Linked DNA regions of Homo sapiens: regions 1 and 2 are each linked to region 3. Evidence: promoter capture Hi-C in 16 types of primary human blood cells and fetal thymus (Javierre and others, 2016). All regions are on one chromosome and are shown on one strand. Each heading gives the region's core, a stretch centred on a gene start or on the middle of the fragment in contact. The rest is flanking DNA. Distances are from core to core; before and after follow the strand shown.

Region 1 (3,041 bases), core at 29-2,528, 560 kb after region 3:
CCTTCCTCTGGGTCCCCACTGCGCTGGGTATACACTGTCTTATCCAACTTTGCATCCGTCCCTGGCATACATGGTCGACGATCAGTGAATGTCTATTCAACTGGCATTTTTGGTTTGTGGTAATGATCTTGTAATAGCAGTTTGTAATCTGGCTTGGACCTCCTGTATATATCCTCCATCATATTCCCCAGAGTCAGCCAGCATAGAGCCCTGAACCAGGCTGTCTGTGCATACAGGTACTTGCTAAGTGAGTGAATGGGAGAAGAGACTGCAGTGAATTTCCATGCTCAGGAATCCACTCTTGACTCCCCAGGGCTGGAAGAGCTGGGTTCTGGAAGAGCTGGGTTTGGTTCCCTTTCCTACCCCAGCCAGGGAGCCCCGCCTTCCCCAGTGACAAGCTTTTCTTCTGAGCCTGCCCCCTTCCCTCCCAATGCCTCTGGAACACAGCCACTATCTTGCGGTCCCCGTCCCTAGCTTGCTCCATTCTGAGGCCCTGGAGGGAGGGCATACCACACCACTCTTCTCTCCTCCATAACCTGCTTCTAACCAAAATTAGGATTTGAACTGACAAAGGGATTCTACTGACCAAACAGCACTGGGATTAGAACAATTGAAGAGCATGAAGAGGAAGGGTATTGTAAGTGGAGCCGGCACTGGAAGGCGCTCCATAGGTGGCATGGACCCTCCCCACCCCCAGCAATGGGCAGAGAAGTCCTGGGGAGAAGGGTGTAGGAACAGTTCGTTTCTAATCGCCCTCTAAGCAAGGCTTGTGGGAAGGTGCCTAGAGATCTCCCCTCGCCCCAATTTTTTATTTTTCCTATACTTGGATGGGGCCGTGAAGGAAGCTGGGATGGGGTGGGGGTGGCGCTAGGGATCACAGGGTTCTCAGAGATAGTAAAATGAGAACCCCGACACGCCAGGACTAGGTCTCCGCCCAAACAGGAGGCAGCCTCCTTTTCTGGCCTTGCGGGAGTGGGAGACCACCCCAGGAGACAGAGACCATCCTTCCCTAGTCTCCTCGAAGGAGGCCACTGTGACTCCCCGCTTCCCGCGGCTGAGCCCCAAGCCCCACCCCGCCTCGGGCCCCAGACTCGGACTCACGGCGTAGAGGCGCCCGCTCCGGCGCGTCTGGCTCTGGCTCCGCCCGGCCCTGGTGGTGTCTAGTCCCTGGGCTGGGGGTTCCTCGGCCTGGGCGTCTCCGCGGTCCAGGCGTGGGTGCGGGGCTCCCGGGCAGCGCGCCCAGCCCCAGTCCCGGACTGCGGAGTCAGGCGGCGTCTGCGCAGCAGGGCGGAGCGACCGGTCCCACGTGGGCCGGTTCGGTTTTCCGCGGAGCCCCGCGCCAGGCCCCTGCGCCGGAACCGCTTCGCCCCCGCGCGGGGCCGCGTTGACCCAGGCCTTCCAGGTCCGGTGCTCTCTCCTATTGGCATTCGCTGGGCCCTTCCCATCAGTTAGCCTCGCTGCAGACACCGTGCCATTTTCAAGTGAAATCTGATTAGTCACCACCTTCCGGCGTTAAACTCCTCAATGGCTTCCCCACCGCCGGGACAACCCCTAAGGCGGTAGCCGCGGGGCTCTGTGCGTCCTGCCCTTCGTCTGCCTCTCCGGCTTCGTCCTCTACCCTCCCTCTCCGCAGTTACCCTCCCACACGCCCCTTTCCGCCACGCGGCTTTGGCACGCACTGTTCCCTCGGTCTAGCATTCTCTTCCCCCTCTCGACTTACTCCTATTTCAGATCTCTTCTCGGAGAGATCTCTGACTCCCTAGATCACGTTCGTTCCCCCCTTTATGTCAGAGCACATTCCTTTTCTTCATAGCATTTATCACAATTTGGAATTATATATTCCTTTTTGTGCTTACTTGACTAAAGTCACTGAGGCCGGGTGCGGTGGCTCACGCCTGTAACCCCAGCACTTTGGGAGGCCGAGGCGGGCAGATAACCTGAGGTCAGGAGTTTGAGACCAGCCTGGCCAACATGGTGAAACCCCATCTCTACTAAAAATACAAAAATTAGCCGGGCTTGGTGGCGGGCGCCTGTAATCCCAGCTACTTGGGAGGCTGAGGCAGGAGAATCGCTTGAACCTGGGAGGTGGAGGTTGCAGTGAGCCAAGACTGCACCACTGCACTCCAGTCTGGGCAACAGAGTGGGACTCCGTCTCAAAAAAAAAAAAAAAAAAAAAAAAAAAAAGAGAGAGAGAGAAAGAAGATCCAAGCCTGGGACAGGGCTCAGGGCTGATGTCCTGTACCCGGGACGGGGGCTCTCCGCAGGACACAGAGCCCACCCATGATGCCTGTGAAGTGGGTACCAGTGCTTTTGCCCAGGTGAGGAGGAACAGCGTGATAAAAAAGGGTCTTGGGTTCCAAACTCCAGTGGATTCTTCTCAGAGCTCCACTCTACTGAAGCTTGACCCCCCTCACTCTTTTGCACCCTGGGGAAATGTGAAGTTGGGGGCCCTGTTTGGAATAAAAGAGAACAGAGTTCAGTAATTGCTGACCCTAATATATGAGGTGCCCTCTTCCAGTTTCAATTTGATTCCAAGTCACCATTCTGCAACCTAGAGACTAATTGGCAAATTAAATCACACCAAGAAATCCTATATGCAAAAACAGGGAAAATGGAAAAGAAATTTTTATGATTATGATGACTATTTTAAAAGGGAAAAGGAAATAAGAAGGAGAAGGCAGAAGTAATTCAAACTTTGCACACTCCTCCAGCTAAGAAAATACAGGTGGAGACGTCAGCCCCATTTCTACATCAGATCCTGTGGCCTAAGTCTTCTCCCTTCCCTTATCCACTTCAGGTTCCCCTGGCCTTCAGCCTGGGGTGACCCAAATCCTCACTTTTTTTTTTTTTTTTTTTTTTTTTGAGATGGAGTCTCGCTCTGTCGCCTAGGCTGGAGTGCAGTGGCGCAATCTCGGCTCACCGCAACCTCCACCTCCCGGGTTCAAGCGATTCTCCTGCCTCAGCCTCCTGAGTAGCTGGGATTACAGGTGCATGCATCACGTCAGCTAATTTTTGTATTTTTAGTAGAGATGGGGTTTCAC
Region 2 (2,790 bases), core at 42-2,541, 580 kb after region 3:
CTATAACCTTCCTAAATAGTTAGCATGGCCTGGATTGTGAAACTAGAGTTCCTGGGGTATTTGTTTTCCTTTTTGCAGCCTTTGCTGCTTTAGACAAAAAAAAATTAATCTTAGACAAACATGAAGAGAACTGTCTATGGTATAGCCTTCTCAAAACACAAAAGATAGCTCAAGGATTAAAAGAGATAGCAATATGTTGCCTAAGATTTTGAAACTATCATGACAAGCTAAGATTTTGAAACTATCATGACAAGCTAAGGGACAGTCTCATAAACTAGGGTCAGAGTAGGTGAACTCCTACCATGTCCCGAAGCCACTGCTCTCGTTCAATTCGCTCCTTCCTCCACCTGGCTTCTGACTCATCAAGCTGTTCTTCAGTCTGATCATCATCAGAGTCTCTGTGGAACAAGTCCATCTGGGAAGCATCATCTAAACAAAGAGTGAAGGTAATCAGCATTCGGCAGTCCTCACAGGAGAGGGTGCTTGGACAGACAAAAAATAAACCCTTATCATTTACTATATAATGATGTAAACTTTTCCCATCCATTAACAGAAAACAGTTACAACTAGGTCTTCACATAGCCTGTTATAGTTTTGCTTGCCATTTGCCATCTGAAACTCGACAAATATGCATTGTAACTGTTTGCTTTTTTTTTTTTTTTTTTGAGATGGAGTCTCGCTCTGTCGCCCAGGCTGGAGTGCAATGGCATGATCTCTGCTCACTGCAACCTCCGTCTCCCGGGTTCACGCAATTCTCCTGCCTCAGCCTCCTGAGTAGCTGGGATTACAGGCGCGTGCCATCACAGCCTGCTAATTTTTGAACTTTTAGTAGGGACGGGGTTTCACCATGTTGTTCAGGCTGGTCCTGAACTCCTGACCTTGTGATCCACCTGCCTCTGCCTCCCAAAGTGTTGGGATTACAGGCGTGAGCCACCATGCTCAGCCCGTAACTGATTGCTTTTAAAGACAACAACCAAGATACCTATGTTTTTCCATCGAAACTTCCTCATTCGCCCAGGACCATCGCTGTGCAGATCCCCATCAGCAAGGTACCTCTCTTGGTATAAACGTAGCTGTCGCTTATCATCATCCAACATAGTTTTCCTGCAACAGGAGAAATAAGGTGTTCAAAACAAGGACCATTCTGGCTGGTTACAGGGCTTGTCTTAAGATGTACCCTATTACTCAGAAGGGCTTATTGGGATACTGACATGTGTATTTTCTTGATTTGACTCTGCAGTTCCTCATCAGAAGGAAGTACTTCATCAATTACGTCCTCTTCATATTCATCAATTTCTTCCCCATCATACTCATCTTCGCTTCCCACATCACTTCCTGACACCTCTGCCTCATCCTCCAGGTATTTCCTCAACCTCCTAGAAAGCAATTTTGAGGATTAGAAAATGCAACAATGAATATACTCACAGAATATGGAAGCAAAGAAAAGCAGAACAGAGTCACTTCTAATAATAATAAACATAATACATTTGATAATATTTAAATTTTTTTGTAATAGTCTCCACTTATGATGGTTTGACTTAATGATTTTTCAACTTTACGATGACATGAATGTGATACGCACTTAGTATGCTTCTCGATTTACGATGGAGTTATATCTGGATAATATGAAAGTGCATTTTCAACTTATGATGGATTGATCAGGATATAGTCCCATTGTAAGATGTGGAGCATCTGTATTTAAAAGTTGATCACTTAATATGTCTTGTGTGCTAATAACTGTGCTTTACAGGCATTAACATATTATCATAGGAATGGGTACTATTATTCTCTTCATTTTACAGTTGAGGGAATTGAGCCTCAGAAAGATTACATTTACCCAAGGTCACATAGCTAGAAGGTAGCAGAGCCTGGATTCAACTTAGATTGGGTGATTTGAAAGCCAGAAAACTCTTAATCTCTTTTACATGTATTAGAATACCTGCTGGAAGGTTCAAACTATTTCATTTTGCATTTGAGCACACCAGCTTTAAGAGACAAACTAGAGATGGTGTGGTGTAGAAAGGTAATAAACTGGGATCTTCTTACAGCCTAACAAATCTTGACCCCCACATCAGAAGGAAGACTAAGGCTCAGAGCTCCTGGTAATCAAAACGACTAGTTACTTCTTATGACTTCAGCTCCCCCGGAGAATAAATCTGGTGTCACCCTGGATTCAAAGTCACCTTGGTCCCATGTGGTCCAAAATGGCAGAAGTTTGGTGGCTTTCTGAAAACTGATTTTTATCGAAGACCTATACTGTATTTTCTCTTTTTTTTTTTTTTTGAGATGAAGTGTCGCTCTGTCGCCTAGGCTGGAGTGCAGAGATGCCATCTCGGCTCACTGCAACCTCCACCTCCTGGGTTCAAGTGATTCTCATGCCTCAACCTCCCGAGTAGCTGGGATTACAGGTGCGTGCCACCATGCCTGGCTAATTTTTGTTTTTTTAGTAGAGATAGGGTTTCACCATGTTGGCCAGGGTGGTCTTGAACTCCTGACCTCAGGGGATCTGTCCATCTCAGCCTCCCAAAGTGCTGGGATTACAGGCATGAGCCACCACGCCCAGCCTATACTGTATTTTCTTAAAGCTAAGTTGTTCTAAATCCTAGAGTTCCTGGAAAATTCCTTCAGAGGCCACTAGTCACTAAGTTTCCCAAACTTCCCACTTACCATCTTTGAACAGTTCAACTTTTATCTGTCATTCTTTAAAAGATTTTATTTGAACAAAGAGCTCTGCAGAGAAGAACCACTACCTTAGAAAAATCTATGGATAACCTAAAGCTGTATGAGAGT
Region 3 (3,020 bases), core at 194-2,693:
GAATCGTTTGAACCCGGGAGGCAGAGATTGCAGCGAGCTGAGATTGCACCACTGCACTCCAGCCTGGGTGACAGAGGGAGACTCCATCTCAAAAAAAAAAAAAAAAAAACAAGGAAAAGAAAAAGAAAAGAAATAAAGAAACAAACTACTGATAGGCATGGTGGTTCACACCTATAATCCTAGAACTTTGGGAGGCTGAGGCAGGAAGATTGCTTGAGCTCAGGAGTTCCAGACCAGCCTGGGCAACATAGGAAGACCTCATCTCTGCTAAAAAAAAAAAAAAAAATTTTTTTTTTTTTTGAGACACACTCGTTGCCCAGGCTGGAGTGCAGTGATGTGATTTCAGCTCACTGCAACCTCTGCCTCCTGGGTTCAAGCAATTCGCCTGCTTCAGCCTCCCAAGTAGCTGGGACTACAGGCACGCACCACCATTCCTGGCTAATTTTTTTTTTTTTTTTGTATTTTTAGTAGAGACAGAGTTTCACTATGTTGGCCAGGATGGTCTCGAACTCCTGGCCTTGTGATTGGCCCTGCCTTGGCCTCCCACAGGCTGGGATTACAGGGGTGAACCACCACACCTGGCCTGCAAAATTTTTTTTTAAATTTGCCAGATATGGTAGTGAGCACCTGCGGTCCCAGCTACTTGGGAGGCTGAGGTGGGAGGATCACCTGAGCCTGGGAGGTCGAGGCTGCAGTGAGCTGTGATCATGCCACTGCACTCCAGCCTGGGTAATAGAGTGAGACTGTCTCAGAAAAGAACCCAACAAACTATTGATACACCTAACAATGTGTATGACTCTCAAAATAATGCTGAGTGAAAGAAGCCAAATAAAAAAAAGAGGCCGGGTGCAGCGGCTCATGCTTGTAATCCCAGCACTTTGGGAGGCCAAGGTGGGTGGATCATGAGGTCAGGAGTTCAAGATCAGCCTGGCCAAGATGGTGAAATCCCATCTCTATTAAAAATACAAAAATTAGCTGGGCGTGGTGGCTGGTGTCTGTAATCCCAGCTACTCTGGAGGCTGAGGCAGAGAATTGCTTGAACCCGGGAGGCAGAGGTTGCAGTGAGCTGAGATCGCGCCATTGCATTCCAGCCTGGGCAACAGAGGGAGACTCCATCACACACACACACACACATACACACACACAAAACACATGTCAAAGATTCTATTCATATAAAATTCTGGAAAATGGAAACTAACCTATAGTGGTAAGTAAGCAGATCAGTGGTTGCCTGTAGATTGGTAGAGGCAAAGGAGGGATGTATAGGTACAGGAGTCAAGGATTACTAAGGGACACAAGGAAACTTTTGGGGGTGGCAGCCATTTTATCTTGATTGTAATGTGAAAGTTGTTAGAATTGAGATTTAACACTAGGAGTCACTAGTGTTTAAAAAAAAAAATAGAGCCAGGGAAGGCTTGTATGTCTCATAACAGAAGCTATCACAAAAGACCCTTGAAAAAACACAACCTTGCAAAAAAGCCATCACAAACTTACACAAAAAATTCATCTGCAAAGACATCTACCAAGCAACTGCCTGTCCAACCTCAGCCAGGCAACACCCTTGTTAAGGATTTTTATAGCCAAGGATATCATTTCAAAACAATGATGTAATCCTCTTCATTTTTTCCTTTGAAAACCTTTCTCCTCTGTCTTTTTCCTTTTTCTTTTTTTTTTTTTTTTTTTTGAGACAGAGTCTTGCTCTGTCACCCAGGCTGGAGTGCAGTGGTGTGATCTCAGCTCACTGCAACCTCTGCCTCCTGGGTTTGATTCTCCCGCCTCAGTCTCCCCGGTAGCTGGGATTACAGACATGCACCACCATCCCCGGCTAATTTTTGTATTTTTAGTAGAGACAGGTTTTCGCCATGTTGACCAGGCTCGTCTCGAACTCCTGGCCTCATGTAATCCACCCACTTCAGTCTCCCAAAGTGCTGGGATTGCAGGCATGAACCACCGCATCCAGCCAAAACCTTTGTCTTTCTTTACCTATTCAATACATATACATAGTTTACTGTGGCACACATATTCCCATTGCAATGCGTAACTCCTGAATAAATCTCTTTTTCTTTTAGAGAGCCTCTTTCTCTTTATTATTTAGATTGACAGTGGTAATGATCTTATTGGTGTATACATATGTCAAACTTTATCAAGTTTGTACTTCAAATATGTGCAGTTTATTGTATATCAATTACTTCATTTAAGCTGTTTTTTAAAATGTTCATTACGTTTTCCTGTGTAAAATGGAAATTCGTGTGACTATTTATAACTTTTTCCAACTTGTTCTGTCTCTGTTAAAACAAATCTGTTGTATTCAGCTTCCAGCTCAGACAGAAAACTGGTACCAGATTTCCCTTAGTGCTGTAAACAACTAGAAAACTGCATGAAGTATACAAAACAACTGCTGTTCATACATGGTATATGTGTTTGCTAGAGCTGCCATAACAAAATACCAGACTAGTGGCTTAAAAAACAGAAATAGGGGCCAGGCGCGGTGGCTCACACCTGTAATCCCAGCACTTTGGGAGGCTGAGGCGGGTGGATCACAAGGTCAGGAGATCGAGGCCATCCTGGCTAACATGGTAAAACCCCGTCTCTACTAAAAATACAAAAAATTAGGCGGGCGTGGTGATGGGCGCCTGTAGTCCCACCTACTCAGGAGGCTGAGGCAGGAGAATGGCATGAACCTGGGAGGCGGAGCTTGCAGTGAGCCGAGATCATGCCACTGCACCCCAGCCTGGGCAACAGAGCGAGACTCCGTCTCAAAACAAAACAAAACACAACAAAAAAAAACAGAAATAGGCCGGGTGCAGTGGCTCACGCCTGTAATCCCAGCACTTTGGGAGGCCGAGGAGGAGTCAGATCACTTGAGGTCAGGAGTTCGAGACCAGCCTGGCCAACATGGTGAAACCCTGTCTCTACTAAAAATACAAAAATTAGCTGGGCATGGTGGCAGGCGCCTGTAATCCCAGCTACTCAGGAGTCTGAGGCAGGAGAATCGCTTGAACCTGGGAGGCAGAGGTTGC

The links. The method cuts DNA at HindIII sites, captures the fragments that hold promoters and counts their contacts. A CHiCAGO score of 5 or more calls a contact.
Region 1: a contact is called between the fragment with the promoter of C1orf216 here and a fragment that was not itself captured in region 3, in 2 of 17 cell types (M1 macrophages and M0 macrophages). The highest score is 5.5, in M1 macrophages.
Region 2: the fragment with the promoter of CLSPN-AS1 here is called in contact with a fragment that was not itself captured in region 3 in 1 of 17 cell types (M2 macrophages); the score reaches 5.0 in M2 macrophages.

Annotation. Positions count from the first base shown.
Region 1 is chr1:35,717,606-35,720,646 of GRCh38, forward strand. C1orf216 (chromosome 1 open reading frame 216) reads right to left here and starts at 1,279. Exons shown (of 2, transcript NM_152374.2): 1 at 1,102-1,279. It also overlaps a transcript of CLSPN not described here. RefSeq lists a silencer at 1,011-1,440. The HindIII fragment of the contact is 2,001 bases long and covers 397-2,397 here.
Region 2 is chr1:35,738,154-35,740,943 of GRCh38, forward strand. CLSPN-AS1 (CLSPN antisense RNA 1) reads left to right here and starts at 1,292. Exons shown (of 2, transcript NR_199043.1): 1 at 1,292-1,360. It overlaps CLSPN (claspin), which reads right to left. Exons shown (of 25, transcript NM_022111.4): 19 at 1,212-1,376; 20 at 983-1,104; 21 at 302-429. RefSeq lists enhancers at 141-642, 386-1,585. The HindIII fragment of the contact is 7,776 bases long and covers 1-2,790 here.
Region 3 is chr1:35,158,912-35,161,931 of GRCh38, forward strand. No RefSeq gene overlaps it. Among named protein-coding and RNA genes, the nearest start is that of SFPQ, 33 kb to the right of the region's middle. The HindIII fragment of the contact is 4,233 bases long and covers 1-3,020 here.